Regions from separate parts of the Homo sapiens genome. Here all the other regions are linked to region 2. Evidence: promoter capture Hi-C in 16 types of primary human blood cells and fetal thymus (Javierre and others, 2016). All regions are on one chromosome and are shown on one strand. Each heading gives the region's core, a stretch centred on a gene start or on the middle of the fragment in contact. The rest is flanking DNA. Distances are from core to core; before and after follow the strand shown.

Region 1 (3,223 bases), core at 489-2,988, 1.3 Mb before region 2:
GATGGAAGAAATCCAAACTATTGTAACAACAAAGCTGGTAGACAGACAATTGCTTTAAACAAAAGATGCTGCAATGAATATCAGACTACTCTACTAACAATAAAGGTGGTGAACTGAGACTAAGCATTGTTTGTTATTTTTTTAGCTGAATGGGACCACAGTAATCAGTTCAACACTCATTTTACATATGGGGAAGTTTGAAGGCCAACATGATTTAAGTGACTCAGACTCAAAGTTAAGTATGGCAGTCTGTGGCTAAGAACATTCTCATGATTTTTTTCAGACTAGAGTTGTTTCCACTAAATTATACTACAGCTATTTTCGGAAATTCACAATTGGTCTGATAAAGGTATATGATTATATAAACTTCTATTTGGAAATTCACTACCTCTAAATTGGAACTTTATATGTAAGGATAACTGACTTCCAAAATAAAGATTATCATTCTAAAAGACTTCTAAAGGCATCATAGTAAGCCCACAGTGATAAGATGCTGACAACACAGTCACTCATTCAATCCTCAAACTCCTATCATAGTTTTCTTATACATATGGCTTACTCTTTTAATTAAGTGTGAAGTTAGAATTATCGTCTTCAACTGACAGGAAGTTAGAATTATCGTCTTCAACTGACAGGAAGTTAGAATTATCGTCTTCAACTGACAGGATAATCATTAAGAGTAATCTTTAGTTCACCATTTACTGCTGGAAGTGTTGAGAAGTAATTTAATCTTTTTTTTTAAATGATAAAAGTGACTTACAGAAGTTATGCTATTGACCATTAAGACTTAAGTCATTTATGCAACTACAAGTTACCAGAACGAGACAAAAGATTATGCAATCTAGAAAAATTCAGTCTTAACCCAGGAAAACAAAAAAGTTATTAATTAAGATAACTATTGGCAAACACTGAAAACAGCTCTGGTAACCTAGTAAAGTGGATAATTATTTTGCCAGTAAACTGTAACAAGGAAACACAACTGTGGTAATTATGTTAAGTCAAAGCTCTTAATCCACTATCAATGAAAAAAAATCTCAGCCATCAATCAATTTAATAGTTTACACATTATAGCTTTACTTTTTCCTGTTTACTGGTTGCAAGGGAAGGAAAAGAAAATAATTTAAGCGGTGAGATCCCAAATAGATTAGATATGTTTAGTAAATTCAGCATATAAAGTTATGAAGATACCTACCAGCTGCCTGTGACTGCATAAAACTTCCTACTCCAGTAAGGTTAATAACAGCAGCTTGCTGAGCAGATAAGGCCTGTTCTTGACTGGTTGAACCTTGCTCAGAACCCTGAATAAAAAAATAATAAATGACTTGTACAAGAAAGAAAAACAAATTTGAGCTGGTGAAAAGAAATCAGTATTTTTTCCTATATGAAAGAAAGCAGTATTAGACTAGTCTTGTAAAAAGAATAACAAGGAAAATACTTCAAAGGTATTTAGAATAAGCAAGAATAAATTTATGGTATTTGAACAAAGAAAACTTCATTTTTCAGTGCATCTGTATTTATTGTTTAATGCTACCTAGATAACGCCTAAGGCTTTTATAAAGCTTCACTGAAACAATTTTTTAAAGCTTAAAACACCCTTTGTAACATAAACATAGTGCTGGAACTTTTAGTCAGCAGACTAAGTCAAGAAAAGGAAATAAAAGGTATATAGATTTTATAGGAAAAAATAAAATTGTCCTTATTTTCAAATGGCACAACTGTCTATATGGTAGAAAACCCTAAGCAATCTCCAAAACAGCTCCTAGAAGTAGTAAGTCCAGTAAGAGGGCACAAAACAAGACCAATATACAAAAATCAACACTATATATACTAGTAATGAACATGTGAAAACTGAAATAAAAAAAATACCATTCACAATTACTCAAAAAAAAAGAGAAAAGCTTAGGTATTAATCTTAAGTCTAAGAAAACATATACAGGGCTTGTATACCAAAAACTACAAAACATTGACTTTGGTCTAGATAAGGACATATACTATGTTCATGTACTGGAAGACTCACATCATAAAGATGGCAGTTCTTCCCCCAAACTGATCAACAAGTTTAACTCAATTCTTTTAGAAATGCTGGCAAGGTTTTTGTAGATATAGACAAGATGACTTTAAAATGTATATGGAAAGGTAGAGAACCTACATTAGCTACAACAATTTTGAAAAATGGTATGGGAGAAAACACTGCCCAATTTTAAGACACTACAATGAACAAGACAGTGTGGTATTGGCTGAAGGAGAGACACATAGATTAATGAAACAGAACAGGGAACCTAGAAATAGACCCACTCAAATAGACCCAACTGACTTTTAACAAATGTGCAGAAGTAATTCAATTCAGAAAGAATAGCTGTTTTTTTTCTTTGTTGTTGTTTTCTTTTTTTTCAACAAATGGTATTGAAACAATTGGATACTGATAGGAAAACAAAAACAAACAAAAACAAAACACGGACCTAAGTTGCACATCTTGTACAAAAATTAACTGAAAATGGATCATGGATTCAAAATAAGAAACTATAAAACTGTTAGAAAAAAAACACAGGAGAAAATCTTTGGGACCTAGAGCTAGGTAAAGAGTTCCGAGACATGAAAACTAGAGGATATTCCATAAAGAAAAGATACTGTTAACTTGGACTTCAGCAAAATTAAAAACTTTTGCTCTGCAAAAGACATCCTTTGGTACCACCTAAAATAGTGTCTGAAGTAACATTTCAGTATATAATTGCAAGCCAAACATTTCAAAAGTTACATTTATCTTGAGGGGATCTCCCTGGATATAAAAGATTGGACAAAAGAGCACAGAGCTGAAAGGAGGACACATTATTGAATTTGGAACCCAGTTCATGAAATGAACAACAGAATAAGGCAGACCACATCACCACCATAACGGAGCTATGATAAAACAAACAAAAAAACTCAAAATGCAAAAAAACTACAGGTGATATCAATTTCCCCCCAAAGCACTCCACAAACCTAATGTAGACTATAAGCCACCACCACAAATGGAATATTCAAACAAGGAGGAATAATGATTAAACAAACATCTTGAAGAAGAAAACAAATACTAAGAAATAAAAGGACTCAGGCTAAAACTAAAAGGATGAAAAAAGACGTACTAAGCTAACGTTAATCAAAAGAAAGAAACAAGAAATATTACCAGAGATAAAGAAGGTCATTTATTAATGATAAGGGGTAAATTAATCAAGGAAATAACAAT
Region 2 (3,218 bases), core at 244-2,743:
CTTATAGACTGTAAATATGTACACTCATCTCTTTCATTATTATTTGGCTAGCTGACAATAGGTAGACACAATCACAGTTTTATCCTTATTACTATTCTCACAAGTTTTAGTCACACCCACTAATTGAATAGTTTCAGCTATTAAGGCTGTAACTGTTGATCCCTGTATCTGTCAATCAATATTTGGCTTCATCTACATATATGGTAAGACCATTATTTTAAAAAGTGAGGATGGCTGTCATGAGAATGTTGGAGTCTTACTTGCCTACTCAGAACCAGAACTCTCTCCACTGGGAAATGTCACCATAGAAGATCAGTTGGCTGCAAAATTATTGTAAAGATGAATTTGATCTCCATTATCCCTACTACAGTTCCTTCCTGGTTCCTCTCTTAAGTATCTCTCCTTAAGAATCTGATGCATATTCTAAAGATCAACTAGATTGCCCCATTATTTTAATGCCTACCTGCTTCCTCCTTTGTCTATTCATGCTAATGTTTTAAAAGGGCATTTCAGTCATTGTGAGACAGACGCATATTTTCCAAACACAGAGGTTTAGATCTGTAATAAAGTTTAGAGGACAATTTTCTTCCGTCATCACTACACAGGATGTTAGATCCTAGAGAGTTGACGCCTACCTGCCTTACTCATCTTGGATTCCCCAGAGTTTAGCTTAGCGCCGGGCAAATAGAAAGGGTTCAAAGTTGGTTGTTAAATTGAATAAATGTGGTCAGTGATTAGCAACTCAGCGCACTGGTTTAATTAGACCATATAACAAATTACTGAAATCTCCTGTTCATAGATGTGTCTTCCCAACTAGACGCCACGTTCCCCAAACGTAGAAACCTCATTTTTTCTCACCCACCCCAGCGGGAGTCTTGGCATAGATAATTCGTACTTGATAGCTCTCTTACTTAACCGAAATTCAATAGTTATAAATCAGTATCGGAAAGTAAAGCGTGAAGGAGAAACTATGAGAAATGTAAAGGATATAACAGGATTGGTTTGCTGGAAAGACGGAAGAAAACTAATGATAAAGCAGTGTTACAATTCCTGCTTCTGGAGCACCAATTAAGCTTTTCCGCGCTCAGGTTGCCTTAGAAACTTTAGAGCGCGTCCGCCCCAGCCCCGCCCCCGGCCTCGCCCCGAGCTTCGCCCCAAGTCCATCTCGCTCTTCATCCGACTACCCCATACCCTTACTTCCGCCCCAACCTGCCAACTGGAACCTAGGGTCCTACGCTCTATGCCCACGCTTATTCTGCCTGACTAAAAATATGGTAGCAAATTACCAAAGTTAGAAAGATATCTTATAAATATAATCCATACTTTTTTCTTAGATATATAAACGCAAAAGCACAAGATATTTGTAATTTAAAAGCGCCATCTAGCATGAGCTCTTAGGGCCAATTTTCAGGCAGTGCGTTGGATAGCAACAACTTCGGAGGTCCCCAGATTGCAGAGGGAGACGTGGACGTGAGTGGAGCGGGGCGGTCCCCAGCACACTAGAGGAAGTCGTGCTACCCCCGCGGAGTTGTCGTGTGTTCTGGATTCATTCCGGCACCACCATGTAAGTGTTTGCTTACCGACTGCCATAATTCCTGGTCCAGCTGCCCGACCCTGACTCTCTCCCGCTCTTTTCCTCAGGTCGAAGGTTTCCTTTAAGATCACGCTGACGTCGGACCCACGGCTGCCGTACAAAGTGTGAGTAGCTCGGCCGAGATGGGCCTTTTGGGGCCGGACAAGACGGGGCTGGGTTGGGGATGATCCGAGCTTTTCCAACAACTACCCCACGCAGTCTTCATCTCTTCACTTCATCTACTTTCCTGGCTCGCGCCCTTCCAGGAGCCTTTCCCACCGGAGCCTGCGAGGAGAGGTCCGTACTTGCTCGCTAAGTGTCAGCTTGGCAGCTTGGCCCCGTCACGAGGGTGTGGGTGTGTTTCTGATTAGTGACCTCCCCTCGGAATTCATTTGGTGGGCAGGTGGCGCGGGAGGACAGGTGGACCAGGTTCTGGTAATTTGTTGGGATTCTTAAACAGTCCCCATCTGCTGGATATTAGAAAAGCGTTTCACCGCTTTGGCCAGCTGGTTGAGGAAGTTAAGGAAGACATTCCATCTTGATAGTCAAGACTTTGAAATTACTTGAACATTTGTTATTCCGCGGCTTCTGAGTTTCGTTGTGTATGAGTAACTCAGCAGTCGGGCATCACAAAGTAATGAGACTCAGATCACACCCTTCCTATGCTGGGATTTAATAGAGTATTTGGTAGGAATGGGAAATGCAGATAGGGGATAGTTTATCCATGTGGGGCCTTTACTTATCCTTCGCAGTTGAGTGATAGATTTTAAGTAAACACTCTTGAGGTTATTGCAGTTGGAAGTAGCATGAAATGTAGCAAAGAACAGGATTACAATAGAATTTTTTGCATAATTAATTAGTACCTTGGCCTACCTAGCTGACTGATAAATTTCAATGATTTACCAATCCATGATCCGTACAACCTCTCAGCCTTTTCCTCCCTTGATCTTTTCATCTCCAAAATATCCCTGTTACACTTTATCTCAGGTGTTCATGGTTGCAGCCTAGAACCTTAAGATTCCAATAATTGCTCCATCTCTGAGATGTCGTTTACAGGCACTCTTATGGATAAATACATTCTCTCCTACATGATTTACTATAATTTCTCATCTACAACGTTTCATTTAATCCATTAATCACAGTGATTTTTTATCTGTAGCTATCCCCACTTCTATTCCTTACCTTACTCCTTATATAGTTAAGAGTCCATTGGTCCACCTTTAAATCATTCTCATGCAAACACCCTCAACTCTGGTGGCCCTGTCTCTCCTCTCAGCATATTTTGGTTAGTGAAACACCAACTCTGAAACCAGCTGTTTGTATTATCTGTACATAGCTGACTGCCCCTGGAGAAAATAACAGACTGGAGGGTTTACATTAAATTCATGACTACAATTAATAGTACCTAGTACTTAATACATTCTTCAAGTTTGCTCATTTTCCTCCTTATTCTCAGAAAAGATTGTTTAAAAATTTCAAACTTTCCACAGCTGCTGTCTCCCTTGCTATCAAGCCATCAGAGGGAAATTCTATCATCTTTACACCAATGTAAACCTACCACTACATGGATAAATCCGTTAATTTCCCATCCTGTTAGAATGGAAAAAATGACTTCACTCCTATGAAAAACCACTTGAGCTATAGT
Region 3 (2,813 bases), core at 283-2,782, 1.5 Mb before region 2:
GAGGTTGCAGTGAGCTGAGATTGCACCACTGCACTTCAGCCTGGGCAACAAAGTGAAACTGTGTCTCAAAAAAAAAAAAGGAAAGAAATTGAGATGTATAGACAACTTGTGCTTACAGTAATTGCTCCTTTGCTTTCTATTTTTCTAAAAAATTTCAAAAAGTGTTTTACTTGTGAATCTTTATTTACATATATGTAACACTTATGTGTAGTGAGATTTACAGGCCTTGGAGTTTACAGGCCATCCTGGGGTCCAAAATATATACTTCCCTGCTGGAGATACACCAAGAAAGTATAATCTAAAAACAATATGACAAAATCTGCCAATTTTCTAGCACTTTATAGTTTTCAAAACAATTATGCATATTTGCTTGCTCTCCACAACAATCCCGTAATGCATGCACAATTATTAGTTTATAAACACAGAAGCAGACTTTTCAAGGTTAAATTACTTGCTCAAGACTGCACAGCTATTGGACTTAAATCCAGGCCCTCTGATTCCAAATGACTTACTGCACAATGTTGGAAGCTTTCGTCACGGGCCAGTGCAATCTGGACACGCCCCTTGCATTTCGGCAGTGGATGCACCATCATGGGGCCATAAGAATAAAGCCTTTGCACAAATTAAGCCTTGATTTTTGGAATGTGTTAAAAGACAGATTTTATGTTAACCTTAATTATATTATTTTAGGAAGTATTTTCATTTGTGCTAATTTATTTGAACCTCAAAACATTGCAGGGCAAGTAGTATTGTCCTTGTTTTGACATGAGGAAAGCAACTCAGAGAAGTTAAAGTGACGTATAAACAGGTCATATTGTTAGAGCCAGAGCCAAGATTTGAACCTAAAATTGTCTCCAGAAATGATGCTTTTTCCAGATTAGTATGTTGTCGCTAAAGTAAAAACTAACACTTTCAAGTGCTTAGTTTATTTTTTCTTGAGATGGAGTTTCACTGTCGCCCAGGCTGGAGTGCAGTGGCACGATCTCAGCTCACTGCAACCTCTGCCTCCCGGGTTCAAGCGATTCTCCTGCCTCCACCTCCCGCGTAGCTGGAATTACAGGCATGCACCACCACGCCTGGCTAATTTTGTATTTTTAGCCAAGACAGAGTTTCACCATGTTGGCCAGGCTGGTCTTGAACTCCTGACCTCAAATGATCTGACTACTTTGGCCTCCTAAGGTGCTGGGATTACAGGTGTGAGCCACTGCGCCCGACTGCAAGTGCCTATTCTAACACAGTAGGCCCTTCAATAAATGCTAAGTAATTAAATTTTTTTAAATGAAACTTTCTGTATGCATACACATACAATTTTATATAAATACATTAATAATCGTATTGTATATACTGAGAGGTTTTTGTTTAACTTTTTACCCCCTTCTGTTCCTTTTTAAAATTTTCTTACCCTCTGTCTTCCATGCACCACCCGACTTCCAGGTAACCTTTGTCAACTACCCAGTATGTAGTCTGTTTTTTTCATGTTTGTATAATTATATATGAACACATATATACATTTAGAATTGTCATTGTTACATAAAAGTGTGGGCATATTATACACGCTGTCAGTATATTGCTTTTTTATGCAGTACTGTGTAGAAGTCCCTCTGAGTCACTTGTATAGCTCTAAGTCATTCCTTTAGATGACTGCAGAGTATCTCATGATATGAATGCATCATCATTTATTCAACTATTCCATTGTTGATAGGCATTCACTTGGTGTCATTTTCTACCACTATGAACAGTGCTGCAGCAGACATCCTTGTAATGTGTCCTTATATAGCGGTATATATTGGTGGTTTTATGGCCTCGGGATTGACTTCCAGAAGTGGGATTGCTGAGTATAGGGCTACATGTTTCCTTTAAATAGATGTTGTTATATTCCTTTCCCCAGGAAATCTGTAACACTTAACATGTTTACCAGCAAATGAAAAAGAATTAATTTCCCTCCCATCTTTGCCAGTATTATTACGTTTATTAGCGTTTCCTGGAATACTGGTAAATTAAAGCATCTTTTCTTTTCTTGTTCTTTTTTTTTTTTTGAGATGGGGTCTCACTCTGTTGCCCAGGCTACAGCGCAGTAGTGCAGTCTCAGCTCGCTGCAACCTCAACCTCCTGGGCTCGAGAGATTCTCCTACCTCAGCCTCCTGAGTACCTGGGACCACAGGTGCATACCACCACTCCTGGGTAATTTTTATATTTTGTGTAGAGATGAGTTTTTGCCATGTTGCCCAGGTTGGTCCCAAACTCCTGGGCTCAAGCAATTTGCCCAACTCAGCTTCCCAAAATGCTGGTACTACAGGTGTGAGCCACTGTGCCCAGCCTAAAGTATCTTTTCATATGCTTGCTGTTTATTTTGATTTGCTGTTCTGTGAATTGCTTAGTCATATCTTTTGCTTATTTTCTGTTAGGCTTCCTTTTTCTAGCTCAGGGTGTAAAAAGTCTGATTAATATCATGAAATTTAACCCTTTGTCACTTCTATCCTGTTTTTTTCCAAATCTAAAATGTGTTTGTTTACTTTTTTATGGTATCGTTTGCCATAGAAGCTTTTACTTCATGTGTATTTCAATATGTCTGACATTTCTTTTATGGCTTCTTGGTTTCTAGTCTTGGTTTAAAAAGTCTCAAGTTGGAATCTTTCAAACGATTACTGATTTATAATGTCCCATTTCTTTTTCTAGAATTAGAAAATATAATTAATATGAATATTGTCAAATAGCTCTAATTGCTTTTGTGTAACTCATTGAAATGGAAATTTTAGAATTTTTTGAAAATCATTATTACACCCTCAGTTTCTAACTGTCTTTAGTTTCTCACT
Region 4 (2,813 bases), core at 172-2,671, 1.4 Mb before region 2:
TGGAGAAAGATTATGCTTTAATCGAGAAAAAGAAACATTAAGTAATTACACAAATATAAGAAAAAACTACAAATGTCATAGGTGCTATGAATACAGCACATGGCACTGCAACAGGATATAATTAGGGGCACCCGAGCTAATTATATTATCTTTAGAGAGTGAGGGCAGGCTACCCTAAGGAAGATCTGAAGGAGAAGGTGAGAAGGGGCGTGGTTAGAAAAGAAAAGAGTCCGCATGTGGAGACACAGGTGGGGCCAGACTAAAGACCATGGGAAGCCCATGAAGGAATATAAGCAGAAGAGGTGCATATGATTGATCACACTTAAGTTTGCAAAGACCTTGTGGGCTACAGCATGGTAGTATGGAGAAGGATGGTGTTCTGGATGGCGGTGGTAGAGATGGAGAGAAATGGAGGAACACAAAAGCTAAAATCAACAGGCCCTGTCATGGATTGGATATATGCATGTGGAGAATGTCAGGGCTGATGTCAGGGTTTCAGCTTCTGTACAACAGTGCTAGCCACCTGTATCTCCAGTATATTTCAAAAGAGAGCTCAGGAGTATCAAATGCTGCTGATGGGTTAAGTGTGACAAGTGGTCATTTAACATGACCACTGGCTTCAATGACATAGAGGTGGCTAGATGTTAAGATGAAGTAGACTGGGTGCAGTGGCTCACGTCTGTAATCGCAGCACTTTGGGTGGATCACCTGAGGTCAGGAGTTCAAGACCAGCCTGGCCAACATGGTGAAACCTCATCTCTACTAAAAATACAAAAACTAGCTGGGTGTGGTAGCGCCCACCTGTAATCCCAGCTACTTGGGAGGCTGAGGCAGGAGAATCACTTGAACGCGGGAGGCGGAGGTTGCAGTGAGCTGAAATCCTGCCATTGTACTCCATCCTGGGCAACAAGAGCGAAACTCAAAAAAAAAAAAAAATGATGAGGCATGGAAGAAAATCCATATGAAGAAGGTGGGGTGAGGAGTGAGTGGGAAGCAAGAAAACAAAGCCAGTGAATATAAAACACTTTTTCAAGAGAAGGTTGCTTGTGAAGGAGACAGGGCTAGAGCTGGAAGGGCACAGCAGGGTCAATGGAAAGGGTTCTGGGAAAGATGTGATGGAAGGGAAAAGGCTGAATACACAAGAGATGAAATACATGGACAGGATTAGGTTTTGACAAGGTGGAAGGAGATGTAGAGGTCAAAAGATCGGTCTTAGGAAAGACACCTTATCTTCCGTAGAAGGAAGAAAAGAGAAAATGGGTGCCCTATTCTGTTTTGATGTTTCTGAGCTTTTTCTTTTTTCTTCAAAGGAAAAAAAATGTTTTCAGGCCACTCAATTTCTACTGTCTACAATTAAGGTGAACACACATAACTTTATACCATATTGTTGGGTTTGTGTATTTTCAAAATAAGATCCAACTCAGGAAAAGTATAAAGGCAAGATCAAGTTTACATACATTATTGTCAATTTTGTTTAAATCTACATGTTCATTATAAATATACAGGGCTGTTTCTCATTACCTAGAAGATGGCTGGGTCATAAGACAGACTGGATACATTCCAGTCAGAAACCTACCATCGTTCAACGTGTAGAGATGAAAACGTCCGTGAAGCTGCTTCTCGAGTAAATAATTTGAACCCACACTGTGTGTCCCTGATTCCTTTGACACAAAGGAACCACACCAGAAAGTGGAACCCATACATGAGAAGAGTACGGAAGTAAGAACGCTGAAAACAAAGACAAAATATAAATGACTTTTCCATTCATCTGTAAAGGAGACACTGAAAACACCTGGCTGTAGACAACTGTATTTTAATATTTAATTGACTGGTAGATCTTACATAAGAACACCACTGTTCCATGAGCTTCACCAACAAAGTATATTAAAGAAACAGCAAGAATGCCTACTGCTTGGAGCAGAGTAGAGGCACTAGGAAGCAGTTACTCATTTCCTGGAGGTTGAGTCAGACAAGCGGCCAGGGCTTTAGCCTACCAGGAGAAACAGGTTTGGGGCTGCTGCTGTGAGCAAGGAGAACGTCTTGTTTACTTACATATTTTATGCTGCTTTGCCCCACATGTATTTCAGTTTCAAAAAAGCTGTCAGTTTCCAGGATGTATTGACAAAACAAAGCACAGATATAAGCCTGCAGTTGATACTTAACTAATGAGAATATTGACAGAAGATGTATAGCAGAGTATCATGAAGGTTATGGACTAGAAAGGAGTTTGAAACAAACACCTGGTCTTTCTAAGCATGCCAGAGATCTAATTAAATACATTTAAAATATTGAGTTCTTTAATACTTTGGATATTAAGATTAAGTAGGTTTTAATCCCATCTGAAGTTTCACTACTGTTACTGATGATTAATTTTATTAGTAGTAACAGAATATTCCATTATTCATAAAACATAGCACATTTTAAAACATAAGAACATAAGATTATTATCACTGGATTCCAGACTTTCACATTTAAGATTTAGTAAAAGATAGGATCTTTCTAAAAAATAAAATAACAAAATTTTTTTTAGAGACAGAGACGCCTTCTGTTGTCCAGGCTAGAGTCCAGTGGTGTGGTCATGGTTCACTGCAGCCTCAAATTCCTGGGATCAAGTGATCCTTCTGCCTCAACCTACAGAGCAGCTGGGATCACAGGCGTGTGCCACTATACCCAGCTTCTTTAAGACACGATCTTTTAAAATGTTCCTTAGTTAAGGCAATAGACTCAAGTAATGATGCGTTACTTACATACATAAGCAACCTATTAAGAGTCTATTAGAACATTTAATATCTCATACTATGGGATAAAGGTCC
Region 5 (3,223 bases), core at 531-3,030, 1.4 Mb before region 2:
AAAATACCAAACAATTAACCAGGCATGGTGGTTTGCACATGCACTCTCAGCTACTCGGGAGGTTGACACATGAGATTTGCTTGAACCCTGGAAGCAGAGGTTGCAGTGAGCCAAGATCGCATCACTGCACTCCAGGCTGGGTGACAGAATGAGACCTTGTCTCAAAAAATAATAATAAAAAATAAATAAAATAATTTAAAACCTAAGTCACAGCCTGAGAAATGACTCTATGATCATGAAATACACACTTTTTAGCATTTATTTTGCCTGTTAGGGATTTTTGATTCTATTTAGAAAAGTTAAGCAACTGAACAAGTGATCATCATATACTTTGGGATTATTTTTTGAAAAAATTTTTTATTATTTTTTGAGACAGAGTCTCTCTCTGTTGACCAAGGTGGAGTGCAGTGGCGCAGTCCCGACTCACTGCAACCTCTGCCTCCCAGGTTCTAGTGATTCTCATGCCTCAGCTTCCCGAGTAGCTGGGCTTACAGGTGTGCGCTACGACACCTGGCTAATTTTTAGTAGAGACGGGATTTCGCTATGTTGGCCAGGCTGGTCTCATACTCCTGGCCTCAAACGATCCTCCCACCATGGCCTCTCAAAGCGCTGGGATTACAGATGTGAGCCACTGTGCCTGGCCAGCATATACTTTGCTTAGAAAAATTACTAAAAAACAAGCATATTTTTAAAAAGAGGTAGACTAACTACCAGTTAGGAAACTGAAAATCTGAGAGGAAAGCTTTGCATATTAAAAAACAAAGATGTGGGAAAAGAAAATACAAGTAAAATATAAATGAAAGTTTTGGCTGAGCGTGGTGGCCCATGCTCCTAATCCCCACAATTTGGGAGGCCGAGGCAGGCAGATCACTTGAGGCCAGGAGTTTGAGACCAGCCTGGCCAACACAGTGAAACCCCATCTCTACCAAAAAACACAAAAAATAGCCTGGCGTGGTGGTGCGTGCCTGTAATTCCAGCTACTCGGGAGGCTGAGGCACGAGAATCGCTTAAGCCCAAGAGGCAGAGGTTGCAGTGAGCTGAGATTGAGCCACTGCACTCCAACCCAGGTGACACAGGGAGACCCTGTCTCAAAAATAAAATAAAATAAAATAAAATTTTTAGTATGAAAATGTAAATGCCCTATTTTATTTGTATGTATTATACAAAGCTCTACTTAAATTATATACATGTAGTTTAAAACCTTACAGGAGCACTTATTATCAGAAAAGAAATTGTAGGCAACTTTTGTAAGATGACTTTGTATAAGAATCATCAGAACCAGAACATGTAACCTGGTTACTCTAAGAGGAAATACAAGCAAGTAGTAATAAATTTCTTTTTGTAGTCATTAAAAAAAAATCAGCTAAGAAAGAAGACATTAGAAACCACTGTAAAACGTACTAAAGAAATGACTTAAATGGTCAAAGCAATATTGTAAAAGATATTTAAGCTAATGACTGCCATCTAGTGAGACAGTCACGTAATTATAGGACTTGACTACAAAACCCACGTTCCTGTTTCATTATTTTCTGAACTATTTCAGTCGCTATTTTTATTAGGGCTTAGGGAAATACATGCAAGGCATGCTTATCAAATTTGTGGCTTAAATGAATTGAGAAAACAGCTATTGCCCTAAGATAGAACAAGAACCTACACTTTTAGACACAGAAATCTAACAAGTTGAAGTTGAGATAACTAGCCACAATTCCATTCCTGAAAACAAAGCAAAAGAACACAGAAAGAAATCCACACCAGTATAGAGATGGAGAGACAAAGTTCAAAGGCAATGAACAGGAAAAAGAGTTGGCAATACCTGTACGAAGTAACAATGTAATGTGGAAACCAAATCCACACGAACAGACACATCTTCAGTGGAAAATTATAAGAAAAAAATATGCTATGTTTAAAAACTGTAAGAACTGGGCCAGGCGCAGTGGTTCATGCCTGTAATCCCAGCACTTTTGGGAGGCCGTGGCTGGTGGATCACGAAGTCAGGAGATAGAGACCATCCTGGCTAACACGGTGAAACCCTGTCTCTACTAAAAATACAAAAAAAAATTAGCCGGGCATGGTGGCAGGCGCCTGTAGTCCCAGCTACTGGGGAGGCTGAGGCAGGAGAATGGTGTGAACCCGGGAGGCGGAGCTTGCAGTAAGCTGAGATTGCGCCACTGCACTCCAGCCTGGATGACAAAGCGAGACTCTGTCTCAAAAACAAACAAACAAACAAACAACAACAACAAAAACCGTAAGAACTGACAGCCTAAAACAGAGAATACACATGGAAAACAGCTTTGACTCTCTGAAGGGCTGTCACAAAGAAGTGGAGTAGATAATTTTGTGTAGCTACAGAAGACAGAAACAATGGAAGGGGGTGATTAAAAGGAGACATATTTGCATTTGGTGTCTAGAGGAACTTCACAGCTGAGCTGAGACAGAATGAGCTGCTTAAGCATCACTAGAGCTATGCAGTAGAGGCTGAAAGATCACTAGGTAGTTGTAAAAACTTTCCAATATTGGATAAATGATTAAATTAGATTTAAGAGTCAGCAAACTATAGCCTGTAGCCCAAATCTGATCTGCTGCTTATTTGTGTAAATAAAGGATGTATTTTATCTATGTCTACTTTCATGCTACAATAGAGCGTTGAGCAGCTGCCACAGAGGCTGACTGGCTTTAAAGCTGAAATATTTACTATATGGTCCTTTACAGAAAAAGTTCTCTAACACCTGAATTACATAAGTAAGAAGATTTCTTCTAATTTCTCTATGCATGTCAACTTCAGAATGTAAGTTTTCTGAGAGCAATGACTGGCTGTTTATAAGCTTTGTCAGAACCATATTTTTCACTGGGTGGATCCAAAAACTATGAATTTTGTAACTTTAACCACCTATCATTTATTTGCCTCCTTTCCACCTCCTGCAAAGAGTATTACATGATGCATATTAATAAAACTTACTAAATTTAATTCAAATTAATTCAATTGAGCTGGGACACTTAAATAATTAGGGATACTTTAAGGTGCTGTAAAACCAAGGCTACGAATTAATAGCTTAATGATAATCACATGCTTTAATTCTTTAAAACTTAACATTTCTAGTAACAGTGTAGTAAATGGGATTATGATAAGGAAAAAATATGGCATCAGAACTCCTTTTCTTTACAGAGTAGTATAAAGGAACTAGATTTATAAGAATAAAGTTCAGATTTTTGTTTTATTGTTTGG
Region 6 (3,216 bases), core at 578-3,077, 1.3 Mb before region 2:
AATAGCCTTCAAAACAAGCATAAAAATAATTATACCATAGGTTTTTTTATTTTTAATAACTCTTGAGCAACATGGTAACTACGACTTAAGTTTACTTAGGTCTACCGCCAAATCTAATTGTTATATTTAACTAATAAGTGAGTTCCCAAAGAGAAATTTTTATTCATTAATGGTTCATCAGTAGTTACTAGATAAATTCTTGGTGCCTTATTTTTTTTTTTCCAGTTACTTGTATTTAACAGAACTCACTGTGATGGAGACATCTGGCTGTCACTTTCTTCATCTGCTTTACATGGCTGTATTTTACCATAGTAAAGTGGATCTCCAAGCGACTGCAAGATGGTCAGCTTTGTTTTCTGATACTGAGTACCAGCTTCACATTCAAATACATAATCATCTTTTACATCCTGAAAAATGCATAGCACCTCAAATAAATACCTTCACAAGTAGGCAGGCAATAAGAATTAGTAAAAATCAGGAATAAATGATACAGTAACATGTATCTGACGATAGGAAGACACACAGCACTTAGGCTACAAAGATATTTAAGTCTGCCTATGAGAATAAAGCACAGCACGGTTCTTTTCCTAAAAACTATATGGGCACTCAGCATGCATTTAGTAAAGCATTAACATATACTATGAAGTATGAACACATATGTAACAATATTAATACATCATTAAATACATTATTAGACATATTGATATACATATAATAACAATGAACATTAATCAAACACTGTTCTCAGCACTCTACAGGGACTGAAAGCTCCACCATATTTTCATGGTTGGCACTGTTATTACCTCCGTATTAGAAGTCAGGGAATTAAGCAAAGAGAGGTTAAATGAATTGCCTAGGGTCACACAGGGAGTTAGCAGTCTGTCCCTAAGCTTGCACCCCTGATCCTCATGCTGCCGTGCCTGTTTATGCTCAGGAGGGCAGTACAGGATTCTTTTTTACATGGTACTCTGGGAATGAGAGTTTAAATGGCATGTTTAATCAAGCTTAATATGGCAGAATTTCATACTAGATATATGAATTGCAAATATTAAATAATATTAAAAGGATAAAACTTTCAAAAGCAGATCTATTTATCATTTGTCTGCTTTTGCTATCACACACAAAAAACATCTGTCATCATTTCACTCCCAGAGTTCACCTAATTTAAATATTACACCTATTCCTCTCTTTTTAAGACGTTATTATTGCAATTAGGAAAACTTATAAAGAACACTTCTGTTAAAAGCCAGCCTTAGAAGAATTTATTAATTAGAAACAAAACAAATCAGAACTACCAATACGCAAACCAAAAGTAAAAATGAAGTTCTTCATTAAAATTGCTCTTTAAGGCTGGGCGCAGTGGCTCATGCCTGTAATCCCAGTACTTTGGGAGGCCAAGGTGGGCGGATCACCTGAGATCGGGAGTTCGAGACCAGCCTGGCCAACATGGCGAAACCCTGTCTCTACTAAAAATACAAAAATTAGCCAGGTGTGGTGGCAGGTGCCTGTAATCCTAGCTACTCAGGAGGCTGAGGCAGGAGAATTGCTTGGACCTGGGAAGTGGAAGAGGTTGCAGTGAGCCAAGATCCCACCTCCAGCCTGGGCGATAAGAGCCAAACTCCATCTCAAAAAATTAAAATAAAATAAAAATAAAAAATAAAAATAAAAAATTGCTGTTTAAAATGCAAAGCATACTCTGATAAACAAAATAGTTGTTTCTTCTTGTAATAAACTGAACTCGCAGAAACTAATTTAAAAAAGAAAAAAGGTCCCAAACTAATGGCAATTGCACTTTATGTTTAATAAATTCAGAGGCCAGATTAGAAATGGCATAATTAGAAACAGAGACAGGCAATGATTTCTTACATGGGCTGGCCAGACTGTTGGCTGTGAGTCATCAGATTTGATAGACTTTTCCACTTTAGCATATTTCTCCACCTAAACAATCAAATCAAGAAATACCACATAAAATAGAATCCATATCAGATAAAATGGAATCAGTATTCTGATCAAAGAGAAGAAACTAAGTAACTCGACAATACAATATACTTGTTAGCGCAAGAATTCTTAAATTACCGGTATCAACTACTTATGCTTAAGCAGTTTAAAAGTCTTCTGATGTGTATAAAACAACTTTAATAAAACCAAACCAAATAAATAAGTGTTAATAAACACAGCTGCTTTTCTAGACAGTGCCTCTTCATTTTTTTGTCCATAAGCTGATATGTTTTTCCTTTAGAGCTTTTCCTTCAGGAAAATTGGAATGTCAGAGAGATAAGGATAAAGATCTTTTCCTTTTGGCAGGCTTTTCTTGAAATAAAAGCGGTCATGTAACAGTGGGGACAAAACTGAGGGAGACTAGGGAAGGTAAAATATTAAAGCTGATCAAATTTTTTGAACGTTTTCCACTTTCTAGTCAGACTTGACCATATATTCTGTACATGTCCTAGGCATCTGTGTGAGTCAAATGTTATTATCTTACAGGCAACCACGATCTTAAGAGTAATTTAGACTTACCTGGAGCACCTATTAAAAATACAGATTTTCATGTCTGTCCCTTAGAAATCCTAAGTAAGTAGATTTTGAGTAGGGCTTGAAATCTCTATGTTTAACTGATATCCTAGGTGATTCTTCTGATTGAGCTAGACTGAGAAGCTTTGAGGGCAACTGCTACTCAATGTGTGGTCCATGGACCCCAGCATCACATAACCTAGGAGCTTGTGAGAAATGCATCTTAGCACCTCAGACTTGCTGAGTAGCAACCTACAATTTAACAAGCTCTCCAGCTGATTCGTAAGGACATTAAAGTTTGGGAAGTACTCCAGCTTGTCCTCCAAAGCTAAATTCCACCCTTCAGTATTTACACTGAAATTCTATTATCAGGCCATGTTCCTTGAAGAACTGCACATAAGCTACCAAAAGATAATATGGCTTACTTCCTTGAGCTGTATATACAGTCTACTGCTGCTTCTGGCTTTGTGCTTTGCGTAATTTCTTTTTTTTAAATCAGAAATAGTAAGAATAATGCATGTGCTAGCATGGAAAGGGTGCAACAGAAGAACAAATCTGAAAATAAAGAGTTGAGTGAATATAAAAAACAACAGAGGAGAAAGAAAAACATAGGATCACTCATCAAAATATCCCTTTTTTGTCTTCAACCATTTATAGTTCATGTATATTATGGATCAATAAAGAATACAACCCAATGTTCCTAAT
Region 7 (2,817 bases), core at 76-2,575, 1.3 Mb after region 2:
TTACAACAATACTGTTCACCTTAACTTGAATTTGTTTCATGGGGTATCAGCTTATTTGAATTTTACATACTATAGAATACAATATGGAAAGAGAAACCAAAGTGTCTCTGTATCTAGACTACCTCTTACTTATATAGAGGTTCAGTGACTTTTCCCCTGTCGTCTCATTAACTCCCTTAGAATTGTAAGTAACTAAAACTCCTGTATGAATACTTCCCTACAGAGACTGAAGTCATATCAGTACTGAGAAATATGGTTATGCAGAGATGAAAAAAGAATATTTAATATCAAGGTAATCTGTTAATAGGATTTAGGAGGAGAGGGCCCAGGTCTTTGATCCTGTAATTGATGCCAAACAAGAGCTATGTGGTAATGTTTTGGATAAGAATTTAATGCATTTTGTATTTGTTGATATGTTTTTTATTATTTTATATTTTAATTTTATTCTTTTAATTTTTATAAAATAAAAGGTAAATACTTTCTTTAATGCCTGGAGTAGTATTAGCATAAGCTTTAGGTAGATGTAGGGGTTGATGATATTAATAATTCTGAAAACAGGAAACGAGGGGACTCTTACCAAGGTAGTGCATCCTGCTTTGAATCATCCCTTTCAGAATCTGTTTATACTATTTTTAGAGGACCTCCCCATTACTTTCTGATTGGAACACTACTTATCCTATCATCAGGTCACAGAACACAAATGCTGAACAGCTGTGTAAAATAATAACACCCCAGTGTTACTTACTGAGTACTATGTGTTAAGCACCATTTTAAATTCTAGAAACACAACGTCAGTAAAGCACTGCCCTCAAACTGCTTTATTTTATGGAACCAGAGATAAACAAACGCATTTTAATTGAATACACTAATTGATAGTCTAGAAGTCATGTGCCAGATGCTGTGTGGCTCAAGTATTCTGGTGTAGGGGAAAGAGATGAGCATCAGTGAAAGTTTCCTAAGGAATTAGGTATAAAGTGAGTTCTGAAGGCTGAATAGGCATTTTCCTAGAAGTAAAGGAAGAACAGTTTGCAGGTTGAGGGAACAGTAATGCAAAGATATACATTGAGAGATAATGCACCTTTGGGAAATTAATTGTAAAAGCTTGCACTGGCTATTGAATTAGGAGCAACAGCTGGATCATAATAGCCCTGAATGTTGTGCATATACATAAGATAAGTTAATGTTTACCATTGATCAGCAGCTTAACAGTTTATTCCTGCTTTAAAATTTCTTTCCCAACTTTTTCACTTTAACATATTGACATTAATTATGAGTCTTTTAGCACTTAAAACATTTGGCGTTTGATTTTAACAGCTGTTGCATTGTCTACAGATTAATATTTATTCACAAGGTTAATCTTTTATGTATTAAAAAAAAAAAGCCTTTCTGTGTTTTGGGCACCTTTGTTTGTTTTCAACAGCTGACTTCTGCCATGCAAATAAATTTTCACTGAGTTATAGTTCTTTATCAAAACTTGGAAAGGAGCAATATTAAATGGCTATAAGGTGGGTTCTTGAGTCAAATTTCTTTGAGAAGTCCGTGTACCTTTATAAGCTTGTTTCCTTAGCTGTAAAATGAGGATAATAATAGTGCCTATTTTACAGGGTTGATGTGAAGATTAAGTTAGATTGTTCACTTAAGGCACTTAGTGTAATGCTTGGTACATCACTAAATTTTAGATATTATTTTTATTTTGAGAGGAGATGACTAGAAAGTTTTCAACTAAGGAGGGATGTATCTGAGGGCTACATGGCAATCTGGGAAAAAGCTTGAAAGATAAAGAATGGAACTATAATAGGCAAAGAAGGTTTATCTGTGAAGGGCATATGCTAAGAAGCAGGGGGCAGTAATGGCAATTTGGAAGATTTTTTTTTTTTTTTTTTTTTTTTTGAGACGGAGTCTAGCTGTCGCCCAGGCTGGAGTGCAGTGACGCAATCTCGGCTCACTGCAGGCTCCGCCCCCTGGGGTTCACGCCATTCTCCTGCCTCAGCCTCCCGAGTAGCTGGGACTACAGGCGCCCGCCACCTCGCCCGGCTAATTTTTTGTATTTTTTAGTAGAGACGGGGTTTCACCGTGTTAGCCAGGATGGTCTCGATCTCCTGACCTCGTGATCCACCCGCCTCGGCCTCCCAAAGTGCTGGGATTACAGGCGTGAGCCACCGCGCCTGGCCAATTTGGAAGATTTTAAGACACATTTAGAAGTTGAGTAGGAAAGTAAGTTTTTAAGACCAGATGATTAGAACAAGATGAATGCTAAAAAAGAGAAAATTGGCCTTTCATTAAGTAATTATTTTCAAAGTGGTAGTTTCCTTACATTTAGGGAAAACTTAATAATGTATCATGTTAACCACCAGATGGCACTATATGAACTTAATAAGTAATGTATAAAAGTTTCACTGTCCATTATTGTGTCTCAAATAATGTAAGTATTATATACAAGAAAAATGTCAATTATTGAAATCCGTGGGGAAAGTTGCCATACTCAGTGTTTCTTATGTGGTGTATAACTGGAATGCTAATGCATTATTGACTTTTAATAATAAATCATGTACAATTATAAATGAAGTGAAAAAATTTGATAATTTATTTTCTTTGGTAAGCCTTTAGAATATAAGTTATTTTAAAATGTAGTAATACATACAATGCTGATTTTTCTTCCTTCTTTATGTATTTGTTGTGTTTCAAAGAGGCACTTCTTTACTATTATCTTTTAATTTGCTTTTTGATAAAAATTTTTCTTCTTTTAATTTGCTTTTTGACCAGAATTTCTTTAACTGTAGCTAAACACAATTTTTAAAATGAGACTTTTAATTTTAA

The links. The method cuts DNA at HindIII sites, captures the fragments that hold promoters and counts their contacts. A CHiCAGO score of 5 or more calls a contact.
Region 1: a fragment that was not itself captured here is called in contact with the fragment with the promoter of UFM1 in region 2 in 8 of 17 cell types (naive CD4 T cells, total B cells, total CD8 T cells and 5 more); the score reaches 13.0 in naive CD4 T cells.
Region 3: a fragment that was not itself captured here is called in contact with the fragment with the promoter of UFM1 in region 2 in 2 of 17 cell types (non-activated CD4 T cells and fetal thymus); the score reaches 9.9 in non-activated CD4 T cells.
Region 4: a contact is called between a fragment that was not itself captured here and the fragment with the promoter of UFM1 in region 2, in 1 of 17 cell types (naive CD8 T cells). The highest score is 6.4, in naive CD8 T cells.
Region 5: a fragment that was not itself captured here is called in contact with the fragment with the promoter of UFM1 in region 2 in 4 of 17 cell types (naive CD4 T cells, total B cells, naive CD8 T cells and 1 more); the score reaches 8.3 in naive CD4 T cells.
Region 6: a contact is called between a fragment that was not itself captured here and the fragment with the promoter of UFM1 in region 2, in 10 of 17 cell types (activated CD4 T cells, total B cells, total CD4 T cells and 7 more). The highest score is 12.5, in activated CD4 T cells.
Region 7: a contact is called between a fragment that was not itself captured here and the fragment with the promoter of UFM1 in region 2, in 1 of 17 cell types (total CD8 T cells). The highest score is 5.3, in total CD8 T cells.

Annotation. Positions count from the first base shown.
Region 1 is chr13:37,011,000-37,014,222 of GRCh38, forward strand. It overlaps SUPT20H (SPT20 homolog, SAGA complex component), which reads right to left. Exons shown (of 26, transcript NM_001014286.3): 24 at 1,193-1,298. Among named protein-coding and RNA genes, the nearest start is that of EXOSC8, 12 kb to the left of the region's middle. The HindIII fragment of the contact is 315 bases long and covers 1,582-1,896 here.
Region 2 is chr13:38,348,358-38,351,575 of GRCh38, forward strand. UFM1 (ubiquitin fold modifier 1) reads left to right here and starts at 1,494. Exons shown (of 6, transcript NM_016617.4): 1 at 1,494-1,564; 2 at 1,642-1,698. The coding sequence starts at 1,563. RefSeq lists silencers at 1,024-1,133, 1,831-2,045 and an enhancer at 1,244-1,453. The HindIII fragment of the contact is 2,541 bases long and covers 1,072-3,218 here.
Region 3 is chr13:36,832,844-36,835,656 of GRCh38, forward strand. No RefSeq gene overlaps it. Among named protein-coding and RNA genes, the nearest start is that of RFXAP, 15 kb to the left of the region's middle. The HindIII fragment of the contact is 2,013 bases long and covers 527-2,539 here.
Region 4 is chr13:36,963,999-36,966,811 of GRCh38, forward strand. It overlaps ALG5 (ALG5 dolichyl-phosphate beta-glucosyltransferase), which reads right to left. Exons shown (of 10, transcript NM_013338.5): 8 at 1,577-1,728. Among named protein-coding and RNA genes, the nearest start is that of ALG5, 34 kb to the right of the region's middle. The HindIII fragment of the contact is 4,137 bases long and covers 1-2,813 here.
Region 5 is chr13:36,979,884-36,983,106 of GRCh38, forward strand. The region is part of intron 6 of ALG5 (ALG5 dolichyl-phosphate beta-glucosyltransferase); the gene reads right to left. Among named protein-coding and RNA genes, the nearest start is that of ALG5, 18 kb to the right of the region's middle. The HindIII fragment of the contact is 2,080 bases long and covers 741-2,820 here.
Region 6 is chr13:37,027,899-37,031,114 of GRCh38, forward strand. It overlaps SUPT20H (SPT20 homolog, SAGA complex component), which reads right to left. Exons shown (of 26, transcript NM_001014286.3): 13 at 1,867-1,938; 14 at 250-407. Among named protein-coding and RNA genes, the nearest start is that of EXOSC8, 29 kb to the left of the region's middle. The HindIII fragment of the contact is 1,651 bases long and covers 1,003-2,653 here.
Region 7 is chr13:39,682,379-39,685,195 of GRCh38, forward strand. The region is part of intron 8 of COG6 (component of oligomeric golgi complex 6); the gene reads left to right. Among named protein-coding and RNA genes, the nearest start is that of MIR4305, 20 kb to the left of the region's middle. The HindIII fragment of the contact is 453 bases long and covers 1,100-1,552 here.